Regions from separate parts of the Homo sapiens genome. Here all the other regions are linked to region 7. Evidence: promoter capture Hi-C in 16 types of primary human blood cells and fetal thymus (Javierre and others, 2016). All regions are on one chromosome and are shown on one strand. Each heading gives the region's core, a stretch centred on a gene start or on the middle of the fragment in contact. The rest is flanking DNA. Distances are from core to core; before and after follow the strand shown. Region 1 overlaps ZNF235 (zinc finger protein 235). Region 2 has its middle 7.0 kb from the start of ZNF155. Region 3 overlaps ZNF112 (zinc finger protein 112). Region 4 overlaps ZNF112 (zinc finger protein 112). Region 5 overlaps ZNF155 (zinc finger protein 155). Region 6 overlaps ZNF221 (zinc finger protein 221). Region 7 holds the start of ZNF234 (zinc finger protein 234).

What was found. The method cuts DNA at HindIII sites, captures the fragments that hold promoters and counts their contacts. A CHiCAGO score of 5 or more calls a contact.
Region 1: a fragment that was not itself captured here is called in contact with the fragment with the promoter of ZNF234 in region 7 in 11 of 17 cell types (naive CD8 T cells, M1 macrophages, activated CD4 T cells and 8 more); the score reaches 9.0 in naive CD8 T cells.
Region 2: a fragment that was not itself captured here is called in contact with the fragment with the promoter of ZNF234 in region 7 in 14 of 17 cell types (activated CD4 T cells, non-activated CD4 T cells, total CD4 T cells and 11 more); the score reaches 8.3 in activated CD4 T cells.
Region 3: a fragment that was not itself captured here is called in contact with the fragment with the promoter of ZNF234 in region 7 in 1 of 17 cell types (naive CD8 T cells); the score reaches 5.5 in naive CD8 T cells.
Region 4: a contact is called between a fragment that was not itself captured here and the fragment with the promoter of ZNF234 in region 7, in 1 of 17 cell types (naive B cells). The highest score is 5.9, in naive B cells.
Region 5: a contact is called between a fragment that was not itself captured here and the fragment with the promoter of ZNF234 in region 7, in 1 of 17 cell types (activated CD4 T cells). The highest score is 5.6, in activated CD4 T cells.
Region 6: a contact is called between a fragment that was not itself captured here and the fragment with the promoter of ZNF234 in region 7, in 11 of 17 cell types (M2 macrophages, neutrophils, total CD8 T cells and 8 more). The highest score is 11.1, in M2 macrophages.

The regions. Positions count from the first base shown.
Region 1 is chr19:44,286,761-44,289,460 of GRCh38, forward strand. It overlaps ZNF235 (zinc finger protein 235), which reads right to left. Exons shown (of 5, transcript NM_004234.4): 5 at 1-2,436. The coding sequence ends at 458. Among named protein-coding and RNA genes, the nearest start is that of ZNF235, 17 kb to the right of the region's middle. The HindIII fragment of the contact is 1,866 bases long and covers 356-2,221 here.
Region 2 is chr19:43,975,788-43,978,487 of GRCh38, forward strand. It overlaps a transcript of ZNF221 not described here. Among named protein-coding and RNA genes, the nearest start is that of ZNF155, 7.0 kb to the right of the region's middle. The HindIII fragment of the contact is 1,108 bases long and covers 873-1,980 here.
Region 3 is chr19:44,353,870-44,356,569 of GRCh38, forward strand. The region is part of intron 1 of ZNF112 (zinc finger protein 112); the gene reads right to left. Among named protein-coding and RNA genes, the nearest start is that of ZNF112, 1.5 kb to the right of the region's middle. RefSeq lists an enhancer at 2,620-2,700. The HindIII fragment of the contact is 552 bases long and covers 1,040-1,591 here.
Region 4 is chr19:44,333,189-44,335,888 of GRCh38, forward strand. All of the region lies in intron 3 of ZNF112 (zinc finger protein 112), which reads right to left. Among named protein-coding and RNA genes, the nearest start is that of ZNF112, 22 kb to the right of the region's middle. The HindIII fragment of the contact is 4,114 bases long and covers 1-2,700 here.
Region 5 is chr19:43,993,264-43,995,963 of GRCh38, forward strand. All of the region lies in intron 4 of ZNF155 (zinc finger protein 155), which reads left to right. Among named protein-coding and RNA genes, the nearest start is that of ZNF230-DT, 8.3 kb to the right of the region's middle. The HindIII fragment of the contact is 4,894 bases long and covers 1-2,700 here.
Region 6 is chr19:43,953,838-43,956,537 of GRCh38, forward strand. The region is part of intron 1 of ZNF221 (zinc finger protein 221); the gene reads left to right. Among named protein-coding and RNA genes, the nearest start is that of ZNF221, 4.0 kb to the left of the region's middle. The HindIII fragment of the contact is 3,666 bases long and covers 1-2,700 here.
Region 7 is chr19:44,140,204-44,142,967 of GRCh38, forward strand. ZNF234 (zinc finger protein 234) reads left to right here and starts at 1,351. Exons shown (of 6, transcript NM_006630.3): 1 at 1,351-1,530; 2 at 2,111-2,164. RefSeq lists enhancers at 1,379-1,778, 1,533-2,123, 1,789-1,838. The HindIII fragment of the contact is 9,485 bases long and covers 1-2,764 here.

The DNA of each region.
Region 1 (2,700 bases), core at 39-2,538, 150 kb after region 7:
TTCTTCAGTAATTGCTGGGCCCTATTATGAGCCAAGCACAATTCTACATGGTAGAGATAGAGTGGTGAAAAACACCTCCTTACATAGAGGTTACATTTTAGTTGACATCCATTTTTTCTGTCAATCATACTTTTGTTAAAGGAAGGCCTCTCTCCTGTGCAGACTCCGACAAGACTTTTCTGCTGTGTTACATCTTGAGAACCGGGACACCTGGTACTCTGATATAAACACTGATCATATTTACAGAACAAAGTTTTCTCGCATCTGTGAAATATGACGTTTGTAAAGAATTCATGTCCTAACCAAGTCTAAAACACAGCATTTGAGAGACTTCTTTCCTGTCAAGATTCTTTGAAGCTTCTAGTTTTAAAGGAACTTTTCACAATCATCAGCATGGACTTCCCAACGGAGACAAAGATGTGAGCTCTAACTGAAGGCTGAACCACACCTCTCATTTCTACAGATTCCCTCCAGTGTGGACTCTCTGATGGTAGATGAGATGTGACCTCTGACTGAAGCCCTTACAACAGACATCACATATGTAAGGCCTCTCTCCAGTGTGGACTCTCTGGTGTGTGTGAAAATGTGAGGCCTGACTGAAGCCCTTCCCACACTGCTGACACGTATAGGGTTTCTCTCCTGTGTGGACCCTCTGATGGGCACTGAGACCAGCACTCCAACTGAATTCTTTCCCACATTCCTCACATTTAAATGGTTTCTCTCCAGTGTGAATTATCTGATGGACTTGAAGATTTGACCTCTGGCTGAAGGCCTTACCACAAGTGTCACATTTATATGGTTTCTCTCCGGTGTGGACTCTCTGATGGGCTTGAAGGTGTGAGGCCTGACTGAATCGCTTCTGACATGCATCACACTTGAATGGTTTTTCCCCAGTGTGGACGCTCTGATGGGCTTGAAGATTTGAAGCCTGACTGAAACCCTTACCACACTCTTCACATTTGTAGGGTTTCTCTCCGGTGTGGACTCTCTGATGATTGTGAAGATTCAAGCTCCAATTGAAGCGCTTCCCACACACTTCACATTTGTATGGTTTTTCTCCAGTGTGGACTCTCTGATGTGCTTGAAAGTATGAACTCTGACTGAAGCCTTTCCCACACACGTTGCATCGAAATGGTTTCTCTCCTGTATGGACCCTCTGATGGCTCTGGAAACTTGAGGCTGAACTAAAACCCTTACCACACTCTTCACATTTATATGGTTTTTCTCCTGTGTGGACTCGTTGATGACTATGAAGATTAAAGCTCAAACTAAAGCACTTACCACACTCATCACATTTGTATGGTTTTTCTTCAGTGTGGACTCTCTGATGGGTATGAAGATTTGAGCTACAACTAAAGCGTTTACCACAATCCCCACATTTATATGGTTTCTCTCCAGTGTGAATTCTTTCATGGGCCTGAAGATGTGATCTCTGAGTGAAGCCCTTCCCACACACCTCACATTTATAAGGTTTCTCTCCAGTGTGAACTCTGCAATGAATGTTAAGATCTGTGCTACGACTGAAGCCCTTCCCACAACTGTCACATCTATAGGGCTTCTCTCCTGTGTGAATAGGCAAATGAGCATAAAGATGTGAGCTCTGATTAAAGCTCTTACCACACTCGTGGCATGTATAGGGTTTCTCCCCTGTGTGGACTCTCTGATGAGTTTGCAGATTTGAGCTCTGACTGAAACCTTTACCACATTCATGACACCAATAGCGTTTTTTCCCAGTACGAACACTTTGTTGAACAGGAATACCTGAGCTATAACTGGTGTCCTTCTCATGTGTACTACACGCTGGAGACTTCTTTCCCAAGTGTACCTGTTTATGAAGTTCAAGACTGGAGCTATCATTGAAGGCTTCTTCACATTCATTACCCTGGTAGGTTTTCTGTCCTGTGTGAATACTACGCTGGGTAAGAGGTGATACCTTTAGGGTATCTTTACCACAATCACTATTGCTATGAACTTTATCTCTTTTGTGCACTATATTATCATCATGGTGGTGTGAAATACAACTGAAAATGTCAACATATGGAGCAAATATACATAGTTTGTTTTTCATCTGAGTCTGCTTACAACTTCTCTGATAATTCTGTGTCTCATTCAGATATATTTTACTCCAAGAATTCGGAACTTTCCCAGTTGGAAATTCTTGATTTTCAATGATACTGGAATGATCCCCTATGTGATTCACTAGACAGTTGTCATCCACAGAAGCTTGAATAGATTCTCCTGCTCCCACTTGACAGGGGGAATCATGGTGCTTGGGGAACTGAGAGCTCTTTCCTTCAATATTTATCATGGAGTCTTGACTTCTGGCTAATTTGCTCGCAATGTGTCTCTTGATTTGCCAGCATGAAAGCTCTCCCAGTGAAAAGCACCTTAATCCTGCTTTGTGAAGAGTTGCCATCTCATTTTGATTCCTGTCTCCTGAAAGGATAGAGAGAATAAGGAATAAAGGACCAAGAGACTGACATTAGCAAAGTAGAGAATTAAGATCTAAGCTCTCATTTTCCCCATGGAAACGTCAAAAAAACAACTAGACTGGCTGAAATAAATTTATAGGAACTCTGAAAAGCAGCTGCAACCAAGAGAACACCAAATGTTTTAAAAAGCCATATTTAAGATAGAAAATTTGAGATCAGCCCAGGGTATGGTTAAGGTGTATCTTGGGTCTTTTCTGAGTATGAGTCT
Region 2 (2,700 bases), core at 177-2,676, 160 kb before region 7:
TCAGCACTGCAATGTAGACCTTTATTTTGATTATTATCTTATTCCACTTGGCTCCTGGCTTCTCCTCATCCTCTGTTCTCAAGTCGGATTCTTATTATTTGGGACTCTGTCTAGTGTTCCCTTGATTGTATATAGTATAAATTTAACAATCATTTGTCACTTTTCTCACAATATGAGGTGAAAAGATTTTGTAATAACAGACCACTGCATATTGTACAATTAAGTTTTTTCAACAATTTTAAGGCAGGATTCACAGTAAACACTTTTTTCTTTTAAAAAATTATTTTTAAGGAATAGAGACAGTCTCACCATGTTGCTTGGCTGGCCTTGAACTTCTAGGCTCAGGCAATCCTCCTACCTCAGCCTCCCAAAGTGCTTGAATTATAGGCATGAGCCACCACACCCAGCCCACAGTAACATTTCTAATGTGGCAGATGTAGTTACATTGACAAAAATTTTTCTGGTAAAGGCCAGGTGTGGTGGCTCACTCCTGTAATCCCAGCACTTTGGGAGGCTGAGGCAGGTGGATCACTTGAGGCCATGGGTTCGAGATCAGCCTGGTCAACATGGCAAAACCCCGTCTCTACTAAAAATACAAAAATTAGCTGGTGTGGTGGTGTGTGCCTGTAATCCCAGCTACCTGAGAGGCTGAGGCATGAGAATCGCTTGAGCCTGGGAGGCGGAGGTTGCAGTGAGCTGAGATTGTGCCACTGTACTCCAGCCTGGGCAACAGAGCGAGACTTCATCTAAAAAAAAATTCCTAATAAGTTTTGAATTGATCATGATTTGTGATTCTGCGTTTCTGTGCAGGCTTTAATATGATTGCCTTCTAATTGCTGTAGTTATTTCTTTTATCAGACTTCTCAGGTAGAAGCTTTGCCAAATTTGAAGGAAAATTTTTGGCAACCTCAGTATTTCTTCCCATCTCTATGAACTACCAAGAACATTTGTTGGAGTTTGGTGATTTCATCATACATATTCATTATTGGAGCAAGAGTAACCTTTACATACTCTTCTTTATTGTTGGCCATAAGAATACGTTTTTTGGAAAGTGGTATATGGCAGTATGTATAAGGTACAACTGTTCAACCTGGAAATCATAGGATAGAAAATTACAACATTAAAACTCTGAAAATTAGTAGATTACATGGATGATGTCACTTAATTTTAAAATGGAAAGAACAAGTGTTCAACCACAGGAATTTGTATGAAGTGCATTTATTAATATAAAAACACAAAGCCAGTAAAATGATGACATAGATGTACAATAAAAAGAGAAGAGCATAATGTATGCCTTAGGGAAATCCTATTGTAGCCTTCATAACAAACTAAGTGTCTTTGTGTTTCTGGGTTTGTTTATTTGGTTATTTTTAGTGTGTATGTACATCATTTGTGGATGAATATTCTGACATTTTCCCTGGCAATGAGTATTTGCTGGAATTTTTCATTTTATAATTTTATGCATTTTAAATTTCTCATTGAACACCAATTTTACCAAAGCAGTTATGTGATGAAAAATTTGAAAAATTATTAATATTAATCACTTACCTATAAGGACTCTGAATAAGATTGCTCTACATTGTCATATGACAGTTCAAAATTAAGGAATAGGGATGTGGAAGTCATATTTCAAAATAAAAAAATGTATCTGGTCACCTGGATATACAGATTGATGAGTGTGGTCAACTGCCTTCATAACTAATGTGTGTGATTCTGCTTTAGGCATAAGTCAGGAAGCAAGCAAATCCTAGTGACAGAAATAATGTGGGTATATATAGTTGTGGAGGTTAAAAAAACAGATTCTTTGAAGAACAAATGCGCATGATCAGGGAACTTAACATGACAGCAGCAGTCTCTTAGTGTGTGGAACCAGCTCGGACAAAGAGCTGATTTGGGTGCTAATTCATAGTTATACACCATGGTGTAACTTAACTGTATTAGGTTAAAAGGCATTCTTCAAAGTGTCTAGTTGAGATAGTAAGCTTTTCATAATTAATTTTCTAAATAATGTATTTTCATGATGCTATATTCATGCTGTGCCAGTTTGGATAGTAGATTGGAGGTCCCTAAGACCACCTCTGGGTTCTGTGATTTACTAAAATAACTGAGACTATAGTTGTACTTATAACAATATTACAGTGACAAGATACAAAACAGAATCTGTAAAGGGAAATGGCTCATGGGCAGTTGTCTAGAGGAAACCAGAAGCAAGCTTACCAGAGTCCTCTCTGCATGGTGTTACATAAGACTCAACTCCTCTAGCATTGAATTGTGATACTACTTGTGAAATGTCTACAATGGAAGCTCATTAGCAACCAGCAGCACAGGTTCTTATTGAGATTGATTATGTAGGTATGTGTCTAGTACATATCAAGATTCCCAACTCTAAGAAGAAGAGCAAGTGTTCCAAATAAGCTGCATTGTAGAGTTTAGGCGCAGTGACCACTCCTACCCATTATGGAAAGGTGGTAACTCTCTCAAACCCCATGTTCCTTGACTCCAGCCAAAGGCCAGTGTTGCAAACAGCTCTTTTTAAAGTTAGCAGTCTGACTTATGCCTGCTATGTTAACTTTTTGTGCATGTGGTATCAGAAAAGTAGGGCCTGCAGTCTTGTGGGGTTTTCTTAAACTATCACCAGATAATAGTTCATCTCTAAGATAATTATTTGTAAAAGAAAATTCATCAGATTACATTTTTAAA
Region 3 (2,700 bases), core at 66-2,565, 210 kb after region 7:
CCTGGCTTCGTACCCTACAGAAATAAGCACAAAAAAAACTGTACATGAATGTTTATATCAGCTCTATTCATAAATGCCAAAAAGTGGAGGAAAAAGTCTATCAACCAGAGAATAGATAAACTGTGATACATCCATAAAGTGGACACTTCTGTTAACCAGAAGTAAACAGAAATGAAGTATTGATACGTATAACAACTTTGATGAATGTCAAGAGCAATTTGCTGAGTAAAAGAATCCGGTCTCAAATGTTAACATATAGCATCAGTTCATTTATACGACATTCTCAAAAAGACAAAACTATAGCGTTTTAGTGGTTATGGTAGTTGCCAGTGGTTACAGGTATGGTGAGGGGTAATTATGAGGGAAGACATGAGGGGAGTTTTTGGGGTGATGGAACTGTTCTTTTTCTGACTACGGTAGTCGTTATACAAACTATGCCTGTGTTGTAATAGAATTGTATACCAAAAATAACAAAATAGTCAATGTCACTGTAAAAACATTTTTTAAAAACCTGTTTTAAAAACCTGGAAACACAACCTCAGTTATAAGGCATGGTCTATAAATGTTGTTACCATTTCTAACAATTTGTTTCTTAGGAATTTTTTTAGATTATCAAAACATAACCAATCATTGCTCTTCAACTCTTCAATACTCTGAAATAGTTGGTGGATTATATAACCTACCAATATTAAGTGAGATTAAGGAATATATCCAGGGGTTATTTCTATTCTATTTTGATACCTAATTCCAATTCCACACTGCAAATCCTTGATGCCAGCTGTCTGTTGAGTAGCTACTCTAACCATAAACCCTTAACAACCTTGTACGATGTGCTGGGCACATGGAGAAAAGTATGACATGGTCCCAGAAATAGAAGAACTTTCAGTGTATGGATTTAGATAAAGAGAAATAAGAAACAAAGAGCTATAAGACTTAGGCAAGGCAAACTCTATACTGGAACACAAAATTCATCACCATCCTTCTCCAAGGTACAATTCTCTTGCATCCCCTAGCTTCCTCAAGTAAGGACCATTCTGTAAGCTTCAACGAATGAAAACCTTAGAGTAGCTGCTGGCATTTCCCTTTCAAAGTCTTGGATATAAGCAATTTATGATCATCAACGTTTGGCAATTATGACAATCAATCAAACGATATTATACTAAGTCGATGTTAGAGATTTGCTTTAAAATACTGAAACAAAAAAAAAAGGGACAGGGAGTTGATACAAGACTGGCAAATGTTAACAAAGGTTGAAGCTGGGTGACGCTTCCACAGAATTATTTTAGTCATATTACATTTGGCTATGCTTACAAATTTCCATAGTAAAAACTTAAGGGAAAAATAAAAGCTATGAAGCCTATTTGGTTAAACATGGGTGAAAATCCAAAAAGAAGTCTACTGGAAGAGGAAAACATTGAAATATTAATATTGTTACTGTTATATCTTGTGGTTAGCATAATTTTTTTCTTTTACACTTTCTATACTTTCTTAATCTTTTACAATATGCAATAATTTATATAATCAGAATATGAACTATAAATATTTCAAATAAAATTAAATTACAGATAATTTTAAAAAATCAAAAATTCAAAGCTTATTAACCTTGCTTTCACGGTCCTCTAGTAAAATCCAAATATGTGTTCTGAAGCTGATACTAAACACATCAAGAACTAAGGCAATGGATGGAAACTATTTGAATTCAAATCCCAGCTCAGGCTCTTACCACCTGGGTGACCTAAAGATAAACCACCTATGCTCTATGTCTGTTTGCTTATCTTTAAAATGGGAATGGTGGTACCCAACCCAGGCTCAAAGGGCTCTTGTGAGGATTAAAGATGTTAATTCATATCAAACTCTTAGAATGATCAGCACTAAATGTTTAAATACTATCTTTATTACTCATGCCCAAGTACTCCCTCATCCGTTTCTGCATTTATTGAACAAATATCAGCGCATCTTCGAGCAGAATTTGCCAGTGAATGATGGAAATATCGTCTTCCCTGAAAAGAAAGGATGATAAGTACTACTCAGGTGAGACTCCGCTGCCAAGTGCCAAAGGGTCATTCCCTCCTTCTCCCTGCAGCCTTTTTCAAGAAGTCAAGGCTAAAGAAGGAAAGGAGGATGGGGGAAATCAGAACTCCTGCATGAATTACAATGGACTACCCAGACAGCCAGGAGTGATCCTGTCCTAAAGAAAAATCTCTCAGTGATCAGAAAAGGGCCAGGGATACTCTGCAGCTGGAGCTCTGACCCCATCCTGGGTTCACAGAAGCTTTCAGGGAACTGAGTCCTTCTCAGAAAATTAAAAAGTGCTAATAACAAGAGACCCATCTTCTACCACCTGTCAGGCTCTGTTCCAAGTCTTTTTATTTAACTCTCAAAAGAACTCCATTAGATAGATACTAGTACCATTTTAAAGAAAAAGAAACATAGGCAGAGAGATTAAGATACTCGCCTGTTATTATACTGCTAGGAAGTGGCAGAGCTGGTTGATGGTCAGGGGAAAGGGCTGGGGAAGTACAGAACCCAGGAGATCCCCAGTCCCTGCGATGTAGGATCTTGGACCCCCGGCGCTAAGTGGGGATGCGCCAGCTGCCCCACACTGGAGAAGGCTCATTCAAAGATAACACAAATCCCGCCCTTCGCCGCAAGTGGATTATCCTCCCCTAGAGCTACTGCCCGGTTGCTACTGGACCCCAA
Region 4 (2,700 bases), core at 44-2,543, 190 kb after region 7:
TGTCATAAAGACAAGTAATTCCTTTGAATTTAATAGTTAGCTATAATGAACTCAGAGAAAAAAAATCTTTGTTTATGTCTTCTTCTTCTTCTTCTTTAATAAAAGCTAAGCGAGAACATCAGCTCAGGTTACCCAGGCTGAGATCACCTTCCGTTCTTACTTCGCTTTTAGATAGAGACAATACAAGGTATAGTGGTGACAATGTTTTGATCACAAATATTTAAGCTGCTGTGCTGACTCCTTTCTTAACCACTGATATGGTTTCGCTCTGCGTCCCCACCCAAATCTCATGTTGAATTGTAATTCCCAGTGTTGGAGTTGAGGCCTGGTGGGAGGTGATTGGATCATGGGGGTGCTTTCTAATGGTTTAGCACCATCCCCCAAGTGCTGTCTCGTGACAGAGTTCTCAAGAGATCTGGTTGTTTGAAAGCATGTAGCACTTCCTGCCCTCTTTCTCTTCCTCTTTCTCTGCCATGTAAAACATGCCTCCTTCCCCTTCACCATCTGCCATATTTATAAGTTTCCTGAGGCCTCCCCAGCCATGCTTCCTGTATAGCCTATGGAACCATGAGTCAATTAAACCTCTTTTCTTTATAAATTACCTGGTCTCAGGTAGTTCTTTACAGCAATGGGAGAATGGACGAATAAAGAAAATTGGTACCAGAAAAGTGGGGCATTGCTATAAAGATACCTGAAAACGTGGAAGTCACTTTGGAAACAGGTAATGGGCAGAGGTTGTAATAATTTGGAGGGTTCAGAAGAAGACAGGAAGATGAGGGAAAGTTTGGAATCTCCTAGAGAATTGTTACATGGTTTTGAACAAAATACGGATAGTGATATGGACAGTGAAGTCCAGGCTGAGGTGGTCTCAGATGGAGATGAGGAAGTTATTGGGGACTGGAACTGGTGATATATTTAGATATATTTAGGTTTGTAAATGCATTTATACATTTTCCCAACATTGGTGCTATGCTTTAGCAAAGAGACTGGCAGCATTATGCCTCTGCTCCAAAGATCTGTGGAACTTTGAACTTGATAGGGATGATTTAGGTTATCTGGTGGAATAAATTTCTAAGCAGCAAAGCATTCAAGATGTGGTCTGGCTGCTTCTAACAGCATATGCTCATATTTATGGGCAAAGAGATTATCTGAAACTGGAACTTATATTTAAAAAAGAAGCAGAGCATAAAAATTTGAAAAATTTGCAGCCTGATCATGTGGTAGAAAAGAAAAACCAATTTTCTGGGGAGAAATTCAAGGCTGCAGAAATGTGCCTAAGTAAAGAGGAGCTGAATGTTAATAGCCAAGAAAATGGGGAAAATGCCTCCAGGGCATTTCAGAGCCAGTCATGACAGTCCCTCCTACCACAGGCCTGAAGGCCTAGGAGGGAAAAATAGTTCTGTGGCTCAGGCCCAGGGCCCTGCTGTTTTCTACAGCTGAAGGACACGGCACCCTGCATTGTAGCTGCTCCAGTTCCAGCCATGGCTAAAAGGGGCCAAGGTATAGCTCAGGCCATTGCTTCAGAGGGTGCAAACCCCAAGCCTTGGCAGCTTCCACGTACTGTTGGGCCTGTGGTGTGCAGAGGGCAAGAGCTGAGGCTTGGGAACCTCTGCCCAGATTTCAGAGGATTTATAGAAACACCTGGATGTCCAGGCAGAAGTCTGCTGCAGGGGTGGAGCCCTCATGGAGAACCTCTACTAGGTCAATGGAGAAGGGAAATGTGGGGTTGGAGCCCCCAGAGTCCCCACTGAGGCATTGCCTAGTGGAGCTGTGAGAAGAGGGCCACCGTCCTCCAGACCCCAGACCCACCAACAGCTTCCACCACGTGCCTGGAAAAGATGCAGGCACTCAACGCCAGCTCATGAAAATAGCCAAGTGGGCTATACCCTGCAGAGCCACAGAGGCAGAGATGCCCAAGGCCTTGGGAGCTCATCCCTTGCATCAGCATGCCTGGATGTGAGACATGGAGTCAAAGGAGATTATTTTCGAACTCTGAGATTTAATGACTGCCCTGCTGGGTTTCAGATTGGCATGGGGCCTGCAGCCCCTTTGTTTTGCCTGATTTCTCCCTTTCAGAATGGGGGCATTTACCCAAAGGCTGTAGCCCCATTGTATCTTGGAAGTAACTAGTTTGTTTATTAGAGTATTATGCATCCATTACAAAAACAAGAGTTATAATCTTAGACTGGGAGGGATTTCCCCAAGGTAACGGCAAAGAAGAAAAATTAGTATATTAAAAACAAGAATGTACATAACAAATTTTTACATTAATATGAGGTATATGATCATGTTAGTATAGGTAAAAAAATTAAGGTATTTTAAAAGGTGACATTATGTTCCAGCTGACAGTATCAGGAAGGTAGACTGGCACAGCATGGCCTCGGCCTGTTTCTGTACAACCCAGGAGCCAAGAACGCTTTCTACATTTTTAAAGTGGTGTAAGAAAAACAAAGACTGTGACAAAGAGCACATGTGGCCAGGAAAATCTAAAGTATTTACTACTTGGACCTTTAGAGAAAAAGTTTAACTCCTACTCTCAAGGGTACCATGTAGGACCCTGAATCTTAACCAAGATGGAAACAAACCATTATAGAAATGAGTTAATTTGTTTTGAATTTTCTGTTGACTCTTTCTTCTTATCCAGCAGCATCCTTAGCTACACAGTTGCGACGGTGGCTTTTGATGTCAGTCTTGAGGACT
Region 5 (2,700 bases), core at 92-2,591, 150 kb before region 7:
GATATAGATTTTACACAATTTTTTCTTGATTTTTATAGATTTAGTGCTGTATTTTGAACTGGTGAACTTTATGACCTGTTAGGAATTGGGAAACTGCCCTCTAAAACTAGAAACATCCTGAAGATTCTCCTTTCTCCTTAAAGATTTCTTATTAATTTAATTTATTTTTGAGATGCAGTTTCGCTCGTCACCCAGCCTGGAGTGCAATGGTGCAATCTCGGCTCACAGCGACCTCCGCCTCCCAGGTTCAAGTGATTCTCCTGCCTCACCCTCATAAGTAGCTGGAATTACAGGTGCCCACCACCACACCCAGCTAATTTTTGTATTTTTAGTAGAGATGGGGTTTCACCACATTGGCCAGGCTGGTCTCGAACTCCTGACCTCAGGTGATCCACCCGCCTCGGCCTCCCAAAGTGCTGGGATTACAAATGTGAGCCACCATGCCCAGCCAAGACCTCTTATTTATAAGTGACAGTGTATTAAATATATCTACGTACCACTGTATACCAATAGGTACACACTTACCTATAAATCCTTTCCAAGATTCAACCTCTGCAACTTAACTTTCCATTGGAAGAATTTACTTAATTCAGGACTTGGTATTATCCTGACAAAGTTTTGAATGTTTTGCAAGCATGAGCCATAGTAAGAAGCACATATTTCAATATAACCCGGACAAACATTTTTCATGCCTGTAGATGTGTATGAGTGACTCTAGGAGGCATTTCATGGAATGACCACTTTCCTGCTTGTCATGATGCTGTGATAATTTACATTCCAGTTCTTTTTTGTAAATGTTTATTGCAGAGTTTAACTGTATTTCATAGCTCACTAATGTGTAGTCTTCAATATAAAAAGTTATAAAGTCCTATTTATCTGCATCATAGGCTTTCTTTTCATTTCATGTGATTCTTCACATTTTTGATTGTCTGCTCAGGAGCATCCCCCTTTGTGGACCCCTGGAAGGACAGCCTTTCAGATTCCCCTCAAAACTGTAGTTGTGTGTCTCTGTACTCCTTCAGATAACCAAGTTACTCTCCACATCAATACAGAAAAGTAAGATGAAGTATTTTACATATGCTGTGCAAAATTCTTGTGCAGGGATACTTTGAATGTGTACATAGAAACACTATGAAGTGTTTGATGTTTAATGTTGTGCAGAGTTCAACCAACTACAAAATTTACTGAGACATTTTACAGAGAACTGCTCTCACTTCACACCAAGTGCAAATTCAGGAGGTTTTCAAAACTGCCTTTGCATTCAATAATTTTCTAAACTCTCAGAACTCACTGAATACTTTTATTCTCACTGACTGATTTTTACAGGGAAAACATGTATATTATACTTAGAGAAAAACCAAATAAAACAGGGTCCAGATGAGAATAACCAAATGCGGACCTTCTATTGTATTCTCCTGGCAGAGTAGGATGTGTTACATTCCCAGGATTAAGGTATGACTTAGACTCAAAGTACTGTCAGTCACAGAAACTCACCTAAGTGCTGGGATCCAGAGTAATTATTGGGTCTCCATTATGGAGCCAGTATTGATTGATGATTCCTAGGTGGTTAATCAGTCTCCTAGTCCACTAACTCTCTGTGACCTAAAGCTCCACCTTAAATCACATTGCTTATTTCTGACATGGAGAGGAGCATCTCCCACTCCCAATCCCCCAAAGGATTTGCCAGTTGCAACCATAAATTATATTGTTTCACTATGCAGAGTGATCCAGTGATTGCCTTCAAGCCAACCAAGACACTCTCCTGAGGTATGACACTTCAGGATCCTAGAGATTACCTCTCAGATGCTGAGGACAAAGTCCCAACCTCTTTTTGGTTAGGTTAACTTTTTTTTTTTTTTTGAGGCAGAGTCTCGCTCTATCTCCCAGGTTGGAGTGCAGTGGCACGATCTCAATCTCAGCTCACTGCAACCTCTGCCTTCCAGGTTTAAGCAATTCTCCTGCCTCAGCCTCCTGAGTAGCTGGGACTACAGGCATGTGCCACCACACGTGGCTAATTTTTGTATTTTTAGCAGAGACGGGGTTTCAAGGCCAGGCTGGTCTTGAACTCCTGACCTCAAGTGATCTGCCCACTTCAGCCTCCCAAAATGCTGGGATTACAGGTGTGAGCCACTGCATCCAGCACTTTTTTTTTTTTTTTTTTTTGAGACAGGGTCTCGCTCTGTCACCCAGGGCTCACTGCAACTTCCACCTCCCAGGCTCAAGCAATTCTTCCACCTCAGCTTCCCAAGTAGCTGGGACTACAGAGTGCACGACCACACCTGGCTAATTTATGTATTTTTAGTAGGGACAGGGTTTTGCTATATTGCCCAGGCTGGTCTCGAACTGCTGGACTCCAGTGATCAATCCCAAAGTGCTGGGATTAAAGGCTTGAGCCACCGCACCTGGCCTAGTTTAACTTCTTTATAAGGATATACAGCATAAACACAAATATACAAAGTGTTGATTAAGTTATTGCTTTTCCTTAAAGTTCCTTTTGATTCATATTTCATTATGTACATAAATTTTTATTTTCATAATTTATCATGCAAGATTTTGGACTGACTAGGAAATTCATTACAAATAGTAACAAGTTAAATGTATATCATATTTTTAAATTAAGTCTATTATTTCTATCAAGGATTTCACATGTGAGACATGATGTGGTTCTGAATTGGCCTCATGCAAACCAGAAATCAGGGT
Region 6 (2,700 bases), core at 1-2,500, 190 kb before region 7:
TTTGGGAGGCTGAGGTGGGTGGATCACCTGAGGTCAGGAGTTCGAGACCAGCCTGGCTAACATGGGGAAACCCCATCTCTACAAAAAATAGAAAATTAGCCAGGTATGGTGGCACATGCCTGTAGTCCCAGCTACTCGGGAGGCTGAGACAGGAGAAACACCTGAACCTGGGAGGCAAAGGCTGCAGTGAGCAAAGATTGCCCCACTGTACTCCAGCCTGGGCGAGACAGAGTGAGACTCCGTCTCAAAAAAAAAAAAAAAAAAAAAAGGATATGCAACTCAAAAGATACCACCACATTATCAGAATCCCATTTAGTCACATTAATAAGTCCAGTCCAGTGGGTGAAGCCACTCAGGTTTGCTGGCTTCCATTTGATATACGGTTCTAAAAGTAGGAGTGGTCTTAGCAAAACATATAGCTTCACCATTTCAGGCATCTGGTGTAATTGAGCTAAGAGACAGTGTCATCTTAAGGTATTAATATACTACTGGAGTTCTCTCAATTCATAACTCATTTATTCATTCCTTTACCCTCAGCTACCGTTTCTCCTTCTTTCCATTAATACACAGACTTTTTCACCTTTGGAAGGGACATTAGAATCACCACTGTGCCGGTCTAGACTGCAGACAGCAATACTAGTCTAGCAAATGCTTCCCCCTCAGTTCACCTCCATTCAGATAGGGTAAGGTTACTTAGGTGCAGAATAGTGGACTGTTTTTACCATCAGGAAATACAGTTATATTCACTGTTAGCCCAATTTTGCCAGATGGGGTGAAGGCACAACCCATCCCCATCGGGCCCTCAGGAATTCTGACACAAGTTTTAGAAATTTAGTTATGGTTTCTTGCTTAGGAATCATCCCTGCTTCCAACACTTGTAGTTGTAGCCCTGATCCTGTGACCACTACATCAGGTATGGGGAAAAAAATTGAGGTAATATGGGGAAGAAGGAAAAAAAAAAGTGTAATCATTATACTGGTGTTCTCCTCCCTTGGCAAGAATTGCATAGTCATCCCAGCCTCCTTTCCCACCAGGTCTTCCCCAGATCAACCAGAAAAATAGAGAAATTGCTATCCCACTGACATTGGGTATGAGCACACACTTGCGAAGGTGTGTAAGCCAGCCCTGATGCTTTTATCTCTTTGTTTTAGACAATCAATGTTTTAATTGCCTGTTCCACTTCCCTATCAAACTATTACTCTGAGGAGGATCGCTCTCTATTCATTGCTGGACATTGTGGGCTCTATATCTAGTGTGTTTCTTGGTCTTCTTTCTTCTTTTTTTTTAAAAACACTCTGAACATTTGGATCTTCCACCATATAAGCAAAACCCGGTCAAGAATCAGTGTCTACTGCTGTCAAGACCCATCTGTAGCCTCCCAGGGCTACCAGCATCACTTGCCAGCTACACTCAGGTCCTTCCCACCAGGGAATCTGTTTCACAGCCATCTTCACTGTGTCATTTTTGCTGACAAACAGAACAGTTTTCATCTGCATTTTGTGCCTCAGAGGGTGCAAGAACATGTCTCGATTTAGCCCATCTTTGCACTGCTGCACTACTCCCATATCCACTAATTTCACGGACCCAGGCAGCCACTGCAAGGGAGCACATGGGGATATCTGCTTGTTGATTCAAAACCTGAAGGGGGCTCTGCCAATGAGCATCAACAGGTCCTACTTTAATGCACACCCCCTACTTCAAATTTCTGTAAGTTCATGCCTCACATGGGCATCCCCTTTAATAGACCAGATCTCCACTGCTCTTCTGCCTGAGTGTATGGCCAGGCCATTTGCCACTGCCCATGAGTCAGTAAAGATCCCAAAGTGGGTTTCTACCACCATTCAGTTTTTCATCACTGCTAGGAAAACAGCGTGTAATTCAGTGCATTGAGCTGATATGTTTTTACCTTCTTTGATCAGGGTGGCATCCTTCCAAATCATATGTTCATTCACTTTGGAACTGCCATTCACAAAATGAGCAGCTCTTTGCTGGTCAGTTGAGAGTTGTTTATAGCTTCTCACACAGTTCCAGAGTCAGTCTCCAGGTAGCATGACTCTGTATAAACTATTTCCATTTTATTATGGAACTCTTCTGGGCACTGCCATCCCCATTAGAATGTTTTCCTAACATTACCTAAGAGAGCATAGGTATTTCAGGTGTCAAGATTTTTAATGTCTTTCAGTCATAGGGCTAGCCTCAGTTAATGCCCCATAGTGGGGTAGTAAATACTCTTCAAGTCAAAATTTTCTAGTCCAAAGTCTCAGTAATTGTCACTAGAAGGCACTCACAGGCTTCTGTCATAAGCCCCAGCCTACATTCCACATGGAGCTATCAAAACAGAATTTGTCCATACCAGCACTTCAGATTCTATTCTACACTGTGCGGACTCAGGCAATCTTACTGGTTCCCATTTAGCATGTCCAACTAATATTGCTTGAAGGGTAGATTTATATGCCTTCTGTTTTGTAATGCTAGTCAGGAGAAACGTTCCCTAGTCAGATACAATGTCCATTCCCATAAAACATTTAGGTAAAGAAGATACAACTTCTTAATATAAAGTCTGTTTAAATAGTCCAACTTTCATAATCCTATCAACCCTTACATTTTTATGTTCTAGTCCCAGGAAGTTTTCCACCACTTGCCCACCCCAACACTCCCCCCAGCCATTTTATCCTCTCTTATGCGAAACACTGAGAGTCA
Region 7 (2,764 bases), core at 101-2,600:
GATTTGGGTGGGGACACAGATCTAAACCATATCAATAGGCCAATGTATGTTTATGGGGAGAAAAAAATCTGGTTATCTTTTTTTTTTTTTTTTTTTCCGTGACAGAGTCTTGCTCTGTCGCCCAGGCTGGAGTGCAGTGGCATGATCTCGGCTCACTGCAACCTCTGCCTCTCAGGTTCAAGCGATTCTCCTACCTCAGTCTCCCGAGTAGCTGGAATTACAGGCACGCACCACCATGCCCGGCTAATTTTTGTATTCTTAGTAGATATGGGTTTTCACCATGTTCTCCTGGCTGGTCTCGAACTCTTGACCTCATGGTCCGCCCGCCTTGGCCTTCCCAAAGTGCTGGGATTACAGGCGTGAGCCACCGCACCCAGCCCCTGGTTATCTTGAAGAAAGATTTTAGATGGGTTTTTTTCTGATTTTGCTTTATTCTATTATTTATTTGTATCAACCAATGTAAGCCAGATTCCAAATTGCTAACTATAATGACGATATTTTAACCAAAAAATATAAAGGAAGAAAATAAAATATGTTCCTTCACGTATAGGATCCTCCTTAATGCTACTGCATTAAATAAATCATAGGCATTGGGTGTCTGACATCAATGCCAAGCGCTTCACCAGTTATACTTGCTTTGAAGTATTGGGCAATTTAAGAGCTTCTCTGAAATTTGGTGTTTTTACCTCTTCAGTAGACATAATACCATGAAAAGTGTAAACGAAAGAAGATAGCTTTTCCATGAGGACAGGGCTTCCCCACTGGCCCTCTCAAATGATGATTGTTTTTCCTGCCAAACCAGTGGTACCACAGCGTCTGGAGTAGGGGCTGGCACCTTCTTTGTTCTTCATTGCCTCTCCCAAACCATTGTACTTGCTCACTCTTCCAACTTTTAGTTTTGGCCTCATATTATCAGTTTATAGTAATCAATCATCAATCATCTACTGACCCCTAAAAAGTCATTCCCCATTTAGTCCTTGAAGATTGTATCTCCTCGCTTGTTCTCTTTCCAATAATCCTCCGTAGTCCTGGGAGGCGTTTAGACTTCAGGAATTGCTGTCTATTCAATATTTTCGCTCAAGGACTCAGGCAGAGGGAAGGACGACTCTCAGGGTCACAGTCCACATTCCCTACCAAGCGCTCAGCGATATAGGATTCGTTCCCCATGGGCAGTGCGGGAATCGTAGGCAAGGAGCACCGCGGAGTCCCATCGCTTTTCCCTGAAGGGTGAGATTCTGAACGTTTTTCCCTCAGCATTCTGAGTGTAATCCAAACGCTCAGTGGAGTCGTGGTCCATTTGACCCACGCAGGGGGATCCGGGGAATTCTGGGAAATGTAGTCCCGCCAATCAGTGGAGTCGCGGGCACTTCCGCTCCAGGGAAGAGGGGGCGATTGTCACGGCACATTCCACGGTAGTTTCTTCCAGTTCCGCGACTCGCGGGCCCCTCCTAATGTCAGGGACTTAAGATTGGGGCTCGCTGGGACCTGGTGGTCCGGTTATGGGAAAAGAAGCCTCGTGGGAGAGCAGAGGTTTGGTGGGGCGAGGGCGGCGGCTTTTGTTGTGTCAGCGGAGCCTTCTTGGGCTGGGGCTCCCCTCGTGTCCCGCGGCGGGAGGCGGGGGGCATTGGGACTTGGTTGGGTCGCGTCTCGCCTGGTTTGAGGGTTTCCGGGGCTCTGAGCTCGCCCACTCCGCCTCCCTGCACTCCAGGCGCGCAGTCACTTTTTTACAGTGCAAGGTTGGCGTGTTAATCTCCCTGGGCCTCTCCTTGCTGTTCTTTAAAATGGGGACGTTAGGACCATCTTTGTAGAATCGTTTTGGTAACTGGAATAGGTTACACAACACAAACAGTCCCTGTCACTTGGTGAGTGGTGGTTTCTTGTTACTTTCCCACGAAACCTGTTAGGTCCCCCGGTGGGGTCAGAGCTCCAGCAGCAGGGGCCTCAGCCCTTATCTCTGATCCCTGCAGGACGCTGGACGATCCCGGACGCCTTCTGACCTCTTTTTAGGCAGGCGAGGGTTGCGTCCACTTCCACGAAGGGAGGGGAGCATTTAACTTTTCTCAGGGACAGCGACCCAGTCAGGATGTTTCACAGCTTTCTCCTTCCCCAGCCTGAAAAAGGACTGCGCGGACTGACTTCTTGGCTACTGAAAGCAAAGCTCCACGTGAGTGTGACTTGTCATTTTTCTTTTACAGAGACTGTATCTTTGTAGCATGTGTAATAGGGCATGGGCATTTATAATAATTAAGCCTTAATTGCTAACTTCAATTCTAGGGGATTTATACAATTAGATACGTTTAAGCCGCAACGTGACTCTGTGGAGAGGTACTGGTCATCCAAGTAGTAAGAGGTGAAACTTGGGTTGGAACCTAGGCATTCAGGGTCAGAGCCCGAGTTGATCATCTCTTGGATATATTCTCATTGAGGCAGAGGAACTAGCTGTACTCAGGTGGGGAAAGTAAGTTAGAACTTGATTAAAGGACCTTAAGAGCAAGGCTAATTGCCTTGGAGTTTTCTCAGTTTTTAAAAACTGTCAACTATTTTGTTTCATTTATTACAAATATTTCACATTCTAATAGAACCGTATCACTGTGAAGCATTCAGAAATTACAGAAATACGAAGATACAAAAATTGTAATTACCTATGAAATCAGGATGTAAAGATAGTAATGGTTAAATTTCTAATGCATTTTGTTTTAGTGGTTCCATGTTTATATTACTTATAAATGTTTTACAAAATTTTTATTATACATTTCTCAATGTT